Linked DNA regions of Homo sapiens: region 2 is linked to region 1. The links are contacts of gene promoters, found by promoter capture Hi-C in human tissues and cell types (Jung and others, 2019). All regions are on one chromosome and are shown on one strand. Each heading gives the region's core, a stretch centred on a gene start or on the middle of the fragment in contact. The rest is flanking DNA. Distances are from core to core; before and after follow the strand shown. Region 1 holds the start of TFAP2A (transcription factor AP-2 alpha). Region 2 holds the start of LOC124900218 (a long non-coding RNA gene).

Evidence for each region. Contacts are between HindIII fragments. The study calls those that stand out against the background at their distance.
Region 2: a fragment that was not itself captured here is called in contact with the fragment with the promoter of TFAP2A in region 1 in 1 of the 25 tissues and cell types used here (H1 embryonic stem cells).

Annotation. Positions count from the first base shown.
Region 1 is chr6:10,411,828-10,418,088 of GRCh38, forward strand. It overlaps TFAP2A (transcription factor AP-2 alpha), which reads right to left and starts at 3,247. Exons shown (of 7, transcript NM_001372066.1): 1 at 3,114-3,247. The coding sequence starts at 3,164. It overlaps TFAP2A-AS1 (TFAP2A antisense RNA 1), which reads left to right and starts at 491. Exons shown (of 3, transcript NR_033910.1): 1 at 491-540; 2 at 2,854-3,224; 3 at 3,460-4,342. RefSeq lists a silencer at 731-1,090 and enhancers at 2,471-3,128, 3,129-3,788, 4,447-5,104, 5,105-5,762. The HindIII fragment of the contact is 28,400 bases long and covers 1-6,261 here.
Region 2 is chr6:10,136,139-10,142,371 of GRCh38, forward strand. LOC124900218 (a long non-coding RNA gene) reads right to left here and starts at 4,546. Exons shown (of 5, transcript XR_007059909.1): 1 at 3,810-4,546. LOC105374918 (a long non-coding RNA gene) reads left to right here and starts at 4,648. Exons shown (of 3, transcript XR_926456.3): 1 at 4,648-4,969; 2 at 5,483-5,578. It also overlaps the pseudogene OFCC1. The HindIII fragment of the contact is 3,973 bases long and covers 1,650-5,622 here.

The DNA of each region.
Region 1 (6,261 bases), core at 1,997-4,496:
TCTATCCTGCCGCGACTGGTTATGATTCAAAGTTCTTTAAAAATGAAAAACCCCAAAAAAGGAAAAAGGAAAAAGTATGTGTGAGTGTGTGGGTGCGTGCGTGTTCCTTAATCCGTGTCTCCCCCTCTTTTCTTAGCGGCGGCTTCGCTTGAGCTTCTAATAACCGCGCTGGGCAGCGTTCCTGGAGCCTCCTAATAGCAGATATTCATGACTATTAATATTACACGAATACTTAATAAGGGAAGAATGCCTGGAAATCGAGCGTGAAGCGGAGAGGCAACTCGCGCCGGAGCCGGCTCTCAATGCAGTCCATTGACGGGAGTCTCAGTGTAGCAAATCGGAGTGGGGAGAGGGAGCGCGAGAGACAAAAAGCGAGCGAGAGAGGGAGCGGGCGAGCGCGCGGGGGGCCGCGGCGCGGCGTCTGGCGAATCACAGGGAAGGGGCAACATTTTAAAAGGTTGCAGGGCATGCAAAAGTGAAAGAGAAAGAGGCAGAGAGGGAGACCGAAGGAGAGAGCGCAGAGAGGGAGAATGTGTCTGCGTGCGTGTGTGAGAAAGAAAGTGTGGGCGAGGGAGAGGAGCCCCGGGTGGGGAGAGGGGAGGGAGGGAAGGAGGGAGAGCCCGAGAGGAGGAAGGGAGGGAAAGAGGGAGGGAGGAAGGGAGGGAGGGAGGGGGAGGGGGCCCAGCCGGAGCGCACGGAGGGGGAGGCCGCGGGGGAGGGGGAAGGGGAGAGGAAGCGAGCGAGGACAATCAGACCTAAAAGGCTGGGGCAGACCTCGGGATGCAGCGGGGGTCGTGCGTAGCGGGTAGGAGCTGCTTGGGACCGCGTCCGGGCGCTCGTGGGGCTCTCGGCGCGGCAGGCGCTTCCCGGCCCTGTCTGGCCGCGGGCTCCGCCGCTTCGCAGCCGAGTCTGGGACTCGGGACTCGGCTGCCCGCTGCTGCGCGGCTCCTCCATGACCCGGCGCCCTGCCCGGGACCGGCCCGCTCGCTGCACTGGTCCTCTCCTCGGCCTCCTCTTGAGCTTTCCTCGGACAGGGGCACCGTGCGCTCCCCGGCCACCGTCGCTCTGCCCTCGGCTCTCTGGGGCCGGGGATTCCGGATCGGGAGCCGGGATGCGGGCCGGGGCGCGCACAGACGCTAGGCGGCCCAGCCCGGGCGCCGCTGGCACCGGCTCGCGGCTCCCGGCAAAAACCCGTCCGACTGGCTGGGCCACTCCCGCCTGACGCCCCCCCAGATGACACGACTAGCTCTCCCGGCGTGCTGCCTTTGCCAGTCTACCCGCCAGGTTGTCAGAACAAGCGGCACCTCGCCTCCTGCGTGTCCCTACAGAGCCCCGGCACAATCAGACTGCCCCAAGCCAGCTCCGAAACCCGAAATCCCCGCTCCGGCGCTTGCCCACCACGGCCAAAGTTGTGGAAACAGCTTTGACTTTATTCTCCTCTCTCTCTCATCTTTTTTTGCCTCGCTTACACACGCATTCACACTTGCCCCCACAGGATCCCTCTAGGGGTGCAAGTTCATCCCCCACCTAGCCACCCACCCCATCCAGTCGGCACCTAGAGCCGCACGGAGGTTCGGACCCCGCCCGCCGAGGGCGCCCACACCTGGAGCTGGGTTTCGGCCTCTGCGAAAGTGAAATGCCCAAGCCTCCGGCCAAAGCCCAGACCAGTACAGTATGAATTGTCCTATGAGACTGAGGGGTTCGGCTTCATTCCTACCTGCCCGCAAAGCTCGCCCCCAGCCTCGAAAACAAAGCGACTGGTCTGACGTGGGGTCCCTGCGCCCCTCCTCTAGCGCGACAGGACCCCCCCAGGGAAGAGCCAGTACCCGTGGGATGTCACCCCGTCCCCATCTACCGGGGTGGGGGGCCTGAAAGGAGAACGATTTAAAATAATCTTCAGAAAGAAAAGGGAGGAGGGAGCGGGTGACACATCGTTCACATAAACCCAATTTCTGGTTTCGAGTGAAGTCAAGATCTCCGCCCCTGCGCCTGCACACACACCTCCTGCCTAACATTCTCAGCTGCAAATGCCAAAAAAGAAAAAAAAAAAAAACAGCAAAAGTTGGGACTGCCACCTATTTATTTAGGTAATCTCCAGCCCTACACACCCCAACCCCTCTCTCGGACTCATTGCTCATTACAGTGTTGGTTGTAACCGTTCCCAGCGCCTCCTGCGGGTGGACAGGTCGCGCTAGGGTCTCCCTTGCTGCCTCAAGAAGGCGAGCTCAGGGGACTCTGCGTTTTAAAATGGGTTCCAAAGCGGCGCGCTCTGTCGGCCCAGCGGGCTTGCGGCACCAGAGGTGGTCTGCAGCCGCGCAAGGATTCCCACGGTCGTTCTGGGCTGGTGCAGAAGCTGGTGCTCCCGCACCCAGCGGCCAGCAGGCTCGGCGCAGCACATCTCCCCACCCCACCCCCACACACCCCCGTGGGGTGCGTCGATCCTGTAGCTCAGAGGGAGAAGCTACTTAGAACTTCGTGAAGCACAGAGGATCTGGAGCGAGCCCCGCAGCTGGGATCAGTGGTCTTAAGTTGAACCCGCTTACAGGAAGATGCAGCCCAGCTCACAGCGAAGTGTGGGGGGGCCGTCTCTAAAGCCGAGAAGGGAACCGCTTTAGAAGTGGGGGTGGGGGGAAGAAAGAATGAATGAATGAATGAATGAATGAATAGAAAGAAGAAGGAATATTAAAGATCGGAGAGGAAGTTCAAGAGAGAAAAGAGTTTTCTCTTTCCTTTCTGTTCCTGGTGACTTGGGCCCTCAATCTCGATGAAGATAACACGAGGAGTGCACAGGCAAGTGCCCAGTTGCCAGCAATTGCTTCAAAAGCCCATGTTCTTCTTTTCCCCCATTCTTAGGCACAGCCAAAATTGGTCAGAAAGGGGAGTAAAGTGGGACACGAGCTTCAAAGTAGGGAAACCAAAGAAGGGAGCATCCACGTCCTCTCTCTGCAGCTTCTCCCCCGCGTTCTTCGGGCGAATCCGAGGGACGGGCGCTGCGCTGGGGAAAGTTTGTCCCACCCGCGTTTCGCAGCTGGTTGCAAGGAGAGGAGGAGGAGAGGGAGGGTCAAGCTCGGAGCCTGTGACCGCACGGATGATCGAGCCGGCGTCGCGCTTACCTCGCAGTCCTCGTACTTGATATTATCCGTCAATTTCCAAAGCATTTTCATGGATCGGCGTGAACGGATATGCCCCTCTCGGTCTCGCACCCAAGTGGAGCTACTCTCTGGGTGAGCGCAAAGTGCTGGCTGCCGGCGGTGAGCGCAGGAGGAGGAGGAGGAGGGAGAGGAGGTGGAGGAGGAGAAGGAGGAGGGAGAGGAGGAGGGCAAGGAGGAGGAGGAGGAAGAGGAGGGCGAGGAGGAGGAGGAGGGCGAGGAGAAGGGCGAGGAGGAGGAGAGAAGGGAAAGAGCTCCCGTGTGCGCTCGGAGATCTCCCTCTAATGGTAGAAACTTTTCCCTTTTCCAGCTCTTTACCAACAGCCTAATCGCCTCATTAGCATATCAACAATAGTCCAATTGCTCGCCAGTACCACAATCTGCCGCCGGCCGCTCCGACACAGGTATAAAGGCCTCTCTACGCCGCGAACTTGCTTCTAGAGCGCACTCCAGCCTGCGAACTGATAAAACCTTCCTCGAGCTCCGCCGCGAGGCCCTGCCCCAACACCCCCTCTCTTACCCCAATTCCGCCACATTCCCCTTCCTTTCTTTCTCCGCTTCCTTTTCTCCAGAGATGCCTTCTGCAAAGCCCGGCACTGCTCAAGGTCCAAGCGCCACGCCTGGGGCCCAGCTTCTAGCACTTCTCCCTTAACCCTGCTACCACGATCCGAGCTGCCCTTTTGGCCCCGTGCAATTTTATTAGAAATCATTATCCCTTTCGCAATTAAACATAACCACCAAACCAAGACCGGCGAAGTCACTCCAGGATTTTTTCCCAACAAGGGATCGCCTCCGCTCGAGGCAGCCACCCCCTCGGGCCGCAGCGCCTTGGGAGTTTTATTGGCTTTGAGCTTTCCCCCAGGTTGGAGATTCTGCCAAGCGGCTCCGGTGGCTCTGCTGGGGTTTGCAATCCCTTAATTGCAGCGTGTAAAATAAAAGTTGTACCCTGAAGAGGTTACTTGACAGCTCCAGGGGTTAAACAATTTTTCTCCTGTTTGTGTGAAGCTAGGGCCAACTGACAGTTCAAATTGGTGTTCAGGCTAAGGTTTCCTGGGTGCAACGTGGACACGAATACAGAACTCCTATGGAACTGCACACCCGCTTCTGAAGTTGAGCCTAAAAACAGACGTGTGTGTGCCTGCAAGTCTAGATACCGTCTCGTGCGTGCATCAAAATAAATCACCGGGAACCGACTTTTAGCTGTGTTAATCTGCTCTAGTTTTCCCAAGATTCCCCTTTTTAATTAAAGCAGGGAGAGTTCCTTCATGATTTGGTGATGCTACTAACGCGGGCGTGCTCGCGAGGCAGAGCCCGGCTGCCGCGGAACCTGGAGGCCTGGGAGCCACCTACTCGTCCAGACTGGTCAGTCCGGGCTTTTGGACTCCTCACCGGGGCCTGCTGGGTCCTCTGGGGCTTTTATCCCTTTCGGTTTTGGGATTTTTTTTTAAGTAAGAAAAAAAAAAAAGAAAAGGACCTAATGTGACACTAGGAAATACAGAGTAATTAATTTTCCTGGCTGAGCTTCCTCGTTTGTCCTCCAAAAGAAAGTTACCTCTGTCTTTTCTCTCTGCTATATGTACAAACTCCTTAACTACACTAGGTCCCGCCTCAGAGTTGCTCTAGTAAGGACCTTTGATTCATCTGGGCTTGTTTCTCGAAAATCTCCAGGCCTCCCATATTTCCACCGGGCGTTCCTAAAAGGGGATGGGAACTGTGGCAGATTGGAGCATTCCCTCACAGGTGGAAGGAAGGCAGGAGCTGGGAGAACTCCCCATTCCACCCAAGGCTGCAGAAGGGGAATTCTCCCTCCAAACACCTCAGCAAACTCCCCAAACCTAGCAGAGTAGGCAGAAGGCTCCAAAAAGCTAGGGAGAAGCCGGAGCTGGCAAGGGGCCTTACAGACCCAGGAAGCCCTCCCCATGCTCTGGGCCTCCCTTGCCCTACCTGAACTGAGCACAATTCCTCGGCTGAACCGGGCTGGAGGCTTGGCGCCGCCCTCCGTCCAGAAAATGGTCGACTTTCCAGGGCTAGACCCTGCAGGGCTGTCCCAGCCTGTCGCCAGTGCAGTGGTTTGAAGTCAGGATCTGGGCTGCCAGGAGCACCGACACCCTCCCAGCAGCGGCCATAGCCTGAGCAGGCCAAACCCTAGGCCTGAGAGCATGGGTTTTTACACTCCGTAGACGTCGCCGCGGTGTGCTTAAGGGAACTCCAAGTTTCGCTTTCTTGCCCTCTGCGGGCTTGGAAAGGCCGCCCTCCATCCTCTGCCACCCCATTTCAACCCCCGTTTCCACCTCCCCGCTGCCCCGCGCCCAACAGATCTCCGGCTCCGCACCCGCTGGGGCTGCTAAACTGTTGTTGTATTCCCGCCGAGGGCGCCATTGAGGTGCAGATTGGGACCTGCCGGCTCTGGACTGCCGCCCCCGGTGTAGGCGCTGATGAAAGGCCCGGGCGAGCGCCAGGGTCGCCTCTGGAGCCAGCCGAGCTGCATTTATGCCAGCGTCATTACCACGCTAAGTCGCTTCATTGCATGTCAATGCTCCGGCGGGGCCAGAACCCCGGGACAGCAGCGCCAGGCCTGGGGTTGGAGGTCGGAGATCCAGGCCTGACGTGGGGGGCATAAAAAGGGCGTCGCGGGGAAGAGGGAGTATTTGTGTGAGAGACAGAGTCACAAAGAGAAAGAGACAGTGAGGGGCCAGAACGACTCTCTTTTCTCCGATTGTCAATGCCCAGTGGGAGCCGGGAGCCCAACAGGCCCAGCCCATCAGATTCGGCCCCTCCGGGCCCCAAATCCGCTCGCCCCACCCGAGATCCAGGCCTCCAGCCACTTGCCTAACTGTGAGCCCGCAAGAGCCAGGCCCGCGGCTCCCTCCTTCCTCCTCCTGCGGCAGTCTCGCGGCTTTCAAACCTTAGTCGAACCCACAGAAGGCCCAGTCCCAGGCCAAACCTACTCAACAGGCACCTTCTCACGGCCTAGGAATTCTGCAGCGAAATTCACTGGAATTTGAGGAGAAAACCCAAAGACTGCTCCGAAAGGACTCCCCCAGTCTTCAGCCTCCAAATAAGAGAGTTAGGAAGGGCCTTTAGCCCACAGGGTCAGGAAGGGAAAGGTGTG
Region 2 (6,233 bases), core at 2,386-4,885, 280 kb before region 1:
TCTACTAAAAACACAAAAACTAGCCGGGGATGGTGGCAGACACCTGTACTCCCAGCTACTGGGGAGGCTGAGGCAGGAGAATTGCTTGAACCCAGGAGGCAGAGGTTGCAGTAAGCTGAGATTACACCACTGCACTCCAGCCTGGGTGACAGAGTGAGACACCATCTCGGGAAAAAAAAAAGAAAGAAAACATTTCTTGTTTTAAGAACATCGAAAATATATATATTTAAGAATAAATTTAACAAAATATATGCAAAACTTATGCTTTGAAAGGCCAGGGTTGGCTGTGCGCAGTGGCTCACGCCTGTAATCCCACTTTTTGGGAGGCCAAGGCAGGCAGATGACGAGGTCAGGAGATCGAGACCATCCTGGATAACACGGTGAAACAACATCTCTACTAAAAATACAAAAAATTAGCCAGGCTTGGTGGCGGGCGCCTGTAGTCCCAGCTACTCGGGAGGCTGAGGAAGGAGAATGGCATGAACCCAGGAGGTAGAGCTTGCGGTGAGATGAGATCGCGCCCCTGCACTCCAGCCTGGGCGACAGAGCGAGACTCAGTCTCAAAAAAAAAAAAAAAAGAAAGGCCAGGGTTGTTATGGATAGTACAACTGCCCCAAGCTTCCTTTTTGCAGGCCAGGACAAGTCTGTGCAATCACTAATACATCCTGCTGCATCTGGATGAATGCCTTGGACTGAGGAGAAAAGCCACTGTGGAAACTAAAGGAGAATACTACCTGGCTATAAGATAGATCTGGATGATTCATTGAACTTGTTCAGCTTATGGAATCCGGAACCCTTTAAGTCACGGTGAGGTTAATACTGCAGGATGGCCTCATCCTGCTGCTTGAAGTCCTGTTGATAATAATTTTAATTAAATACTATATGAGGTAAATTGAATGGATTTGGCCCCAGCCTCTATTGGTCAGATTGACCAGAGCAGCAGATGGAGTGGCATACTCATGCCTAAATTTGCCAGAAGCAGGGGTGTAGAAACAAGGGAGATTGTTTCTACAAGTGGAGATTTTAAAAACATCTTCCACAGGTCTCTCATGTTCCTGCACCTGACTGTCTTTGTTCCGGGATGTATAGCAAACAGTTTTGGAAGATAGTGTCTCCTTTTGGAGTCTGGGGCTTATGGTCCAGTATAATAAGGATAATTTCTCCCTCCAAGATAAAGAGCAGGCATATTCACTGCTTGTTATAGAAGATCCAGGTTTCCTAAATTCAGGGTTCTTCTACAATGCAACTCTCTTCACGTGCAGGGTCACCTGGCCCTCTTCATGTTGCACTGTGAGAGTTATGGTTCAGGGAACCAAGGCAAATTCTGGCTACTGTCATTGCTGTGACTAATAAAATCCTTTGTTTCTGACCCAAGAATCTCATGTCTTCTACCAACATCTATGAAACTGTGGTAGGCTCGCCTGTTTACAGTTAACACTTTGCTTACAGGCCCTTTACAGTTCTTGACTGTGCCTATGACTTACTCATCTTTGTATACTTCATTCCATCTGTACTAAATGAGTATATAAATGAATTTTTATTTGAGCCATGTAAAAACACCCCAAAACATACAGCCGGTCCACAGATCAACTTCATGCCTCTTATGAGATATACAGTATCAGGGTATAAAATACATGACCGAGTATAATTCATAGATGAACAAAAGACCGTTTCCAAGCTATTTATACAAATAAGTCCACAACATAGCAGTTCTATTCATTTCAGCTATCATGAAAATTTCCCCAATCCCCACAGCCAAATTGATTGTGGCTTGATCTGTATAAATCTCTTATACTGCTAAAAATTAATCCATTAATGTCCAGCACAGTTCATCTTCTGCACATCAAAAATTCTCATTCTCATTTTTCCTCTCCCTCTCTCTCTCTGACACACACACACACACACACACACACACACACACACACACACCCCTTAGCAATGAAAAGTTTTTCTTTATATTCTTAAGATTCTCAGCACACTAAGAAAAAACAGCAATAAAGATGTCTGGGTCCTGAGTTAAAAATTCAGCAGAATACCTCCAACAACAACTAAATTGAATATATATACACAAAACAAGTCACATTAAGAGTAAAAACAAGATCTCTTTATCCCATATAAATATCTGCCTCCACACTATTCACAATAGTGAAGACTTGGAACCAACCCGAACGTCCATCAATGATAGACTGGATTAAGAAAATGTGGCACATATACACCATGGAATTCTATGCAGCCATAAAAAAGGATGAGTTCATGTCCTTTGTAGGGACATGGATGAAGCTGGAAACCATTATTCTGAGCAAACTATCACAAGGACACTACATGTTCTCACTCATAGGTGGGAACTGAACAATGAGAACACTTGGACACAGGGTGGGGAACATCACACACTGGGGCATGTCATGGGGTGGGGTGCTGGGGGGGGTGCGGATAGCATTAGGATATATACCTAATGTAAATGACGAGTTAACGGGTGCAGCACACCAACATGGCACATGTATGCATATGTAACAAACCTGCACGTTGTGCACATGTACCCTAGAAATTAAAGTATAATAAAAAATAAATAAATAAATAAATAAGTATCTGCCTCCTAAGATAAAATGCTCCTTGACTTCAACACCTTATAGAGGAATGAGAAAGGGAACATGTTCTCTATTTTTAAGAAGACTTTTTAAAGCTTTCATTTAATTAGCCAGGCGTGGTGGCAGGTGCCTGTAGTCCCAGCTACTCGGGAAGCTGAGGCAGGAGAATCGCTTGAACCCGGGAAGCAGAGGTTGCAGTCAGCCGAGACTGCACCACTGCACTCCAGCCTGGGCAACAGAGCAAGACTCTGTCTAAAAAAAAAAAAAAAGCTTTCATTTAAAAAGCAATTATCAGTGGACCAAAATAGATTTATAAAGATGATTCATCTCAGTTAAGCTTCAGTCAGATAAGCATCCTCAAGTCCCAGACCTGTGTGCTATGATTCAGTGTGAAATGGCTTGAGATAGACAGGGCTGGGCTGAGGCTACAGTCAATAGGGAGCCATCTCATGGAGACTCGGGCAGGAAGCCATGACTGTGGTTAATTCAATGGTGGGTTCCTTTTACATGTAAGCGAAACCTGAGAGTTCTTCTTCCTTCCTTTTAAAATTTGTCATTGAGAAGTTCCATTTTTAATTATTCTTTCACATTTAGCACCTTTGCAGATTTAGGATCTGCAAAAGTACATTAGGCTCAGCAGCATTTGGGGTGCCATGCAACTAGCTCTTATGCTACATTCCAGTTTTTCAGAATGAAGTAAAATAGAACCAAGATCCTCCCTCTGCCTTGCTCACTGATAACCCTCCTGGGCTTGGGGTGAGAGAAGAGACGTCGCCACAGTCAAATCACATCGCTCTCAGGGAAGCAGCCAGCGTTCTTTCAGACATTCATGAATGGCCCTTTTCTCCCTTTCCCTTTCCTTTTGTGCCCAGACTTTCTGTGTCAAGAACCTGAGAGCTGTTCAGAAGGGAAGAAAGGACATAGAGGTGCTCTCGCATTTCTTCCCAGAGGTGCTGAAATTAACCCCTTATCTGTCCTGGGCAAGCATCCTGAGGTTTCCTTAATTAACATTTGTCAGACTCTTTCAAAGGAAAGGTACCAGGTGATGATTACAGTAGCTTGTCTCACCCTCTTTGGCTGGTAAATTAGCTTAGAACTTTCTCATGAAACTTGGGGTATCAAGCAACTCTCCTTAAAAGGAACTAATCCCCTTTCCAATGATTTCCAATTCTAGGGTCTATAGGAAGCAGATACAATGAAAATTTGAGGCAAAAATGTACTCACTATTCAAACTTGATTATAGTGACATCGTTTTCATACTTCAAAATCAAATTCCCAAATTCTGCCCTGCAAATCCTTCCCACTTTTTCACTGTTACTTTGTTTCTATTTGGACTATTCCCATTTCCATGAGGAATACTGGCTCAGAAATAAAACATACACTATAATTTGGCTTTTGGGTTCCAGCTTTAAGACATGTATGAGCATCGTGTTGTTACTGTTAACTTACAATTGAGGATGCTTCTCTCACACTTGTTGATTTTACTAACGTGTGTGAGGGTGCCTGTGAAATCAGCATTCCAGCACCAACCATTTGTTACCAGAAAACTAATAATCAAATCAAGTAAGTGAATCACTGAGCCCCAGAGCCTGCCTCATTCTTTTGCAATAAGGATCGCACCTCATTTCCTTCTGGAACTTGATTACAACAAACAAAGATTCAAAAAGGGCTGAGGCCTAAAGATCACCCTAAACAACTTGGAGAGCTCAACATTGTGAAGCTCAGCTACCAATATGTTGCTGTTAACTCAAAGAATGGAAAAGGAGATGGAAGTTTTAAGGTTCCCCAGACTTGCAGAAATCTGTACAAACCAGCCTAAAGAACTAAGAAAAGAAAAAGCTTTTTTAGTCCTCTGACGTCTACTTGGAAGTTTTCACATACTGTAGTTAAGACCAAAGAACAAGTCTTGGGCCCGTCTAACCCTGACCAAAATTGATTTTCTGTCCAGTAACTGCCCGAGTTCTAGGTTAGTTCATGCCCTATCTGACAAAGCGCCTTCGCTAAATACGCTACAGTAGCCCACAGGGATCTTTTTTAAGGTTTCCCCAAGAGTGACTTTTTATTCCCCTCCTATCTTCCCTAGAATTTTCTTTTGTTTGAAACCGCAACCTCAGTTTTTTAAAATTCCATGAATGAAAAACCATGAATATTTTAGAAAACATTCAGGTTATAGAAGTGGCCACATTTGTTGATTTCTTAAATAAAGCTGAAGTTCTCTGTCCGTTGCTATATGGTAAGCCCTAGGGCTCAATTCAGATAAGTGTACTGTGTTTCACTGCCAAAAAAAACATCCGTTTTCTTCTACAGTCACCATAAACCAACAACCCTAGAAAAACCTGCTTTGTTGTCCTGAAGGAGCTGTTATTGTTCAGAATATTTTACATGTAAGTGAAACCTGAGAGTTCTTCTTCCTTCCTTTTATAATTTGTCATTGGGAACTTCCATTTTTATTTATTCTTTCACATTTAGCACCTGAATACTTATGGGATCTGCAAAAGTACATATTGAAATATGCAAATGGTATATAGCATGTGAGTGTCAGATTCACGGAAATTAAATCAAATACAGGGGAGAGAAAAGAAACAGAGTGCATTAAAGCTAACTTTATGGTCCCAAGCTGTAGACAAATTGTGGTCTGTGGTAGTTAAACAACAGCTGTTCGAATTTAAAATAAAATTATGATAAGGATCCCCAGAAGATAACACTTCTTGAGGTAACAGCATTTACCTCAATGCATCTGTTAGCAAATAGCACTGACGAGCGTTGATGTGAAGGTTTATTCCCATTTCTTTTCCTATGGTCGTTCTGTCATTCCCATTTCTGGTAGATAGTTACTCTTACTGAGTGAAATTTATGTTTCGTTTCCCAGCATAACCTTTTCTTCCATGTCTGCTCAGGTGAATTTCTGCTCCAGCTGGCTGGGGACCATCATGACAAGGGAATGTGATCAAGAAGACAAACACATAGATATCATGAAGAAAAGAAAACGGAAGGTGGGTACTCCTTTAGTTGGGGTTCATTTATTCAAACTAAGTCTTCCTTAAACTCTTAGTGAATAGCAATTCTTTAAGAGCTTCACACCCAATAAAATTTAAACTTTTATGTAGTATTTTCTTCATTTATTGTGCAAGAGCTTTACTGCAGACACGTAGGAAACCACCCAGCTGGAATTTGTAAGAGCAGTGACTGCTGTTTCCCTCAATACCTCAAATCTGTGTGTGCTCATTTCAAGCCTATCTGCTTATTTTCTCTCTCTCTCCTGACTCACTCCATCTCTTGCTCTCTCTAGATCCTGATCTCTGTCCCCTCTCATCACTGTCATCACCATCACATCCACCAAAATGCACATTGGTAGCAAATAGACTATATTCCTAAAAATAAATCTCTCAACCTATATGTTTTTGGTAAATAAAACAATTTATCCAAGCCAAGAGAATGCATACATTTGTTAAACAATTTATACTTTATCTGAAACATGATATTTGTTCATATACTTAAGGATGTTTAAGGAAATAATTTGGAACTGAAAACTTTCCCACAAAGCTGTGTGTATATAGAGAGATAAAATCTACATGTAGAAGCAGCCTCTTTGCATGCCCCAGTGCCAAGAAAAATCGTAATGGAGGGTTTTCAGATACAAATTAAATT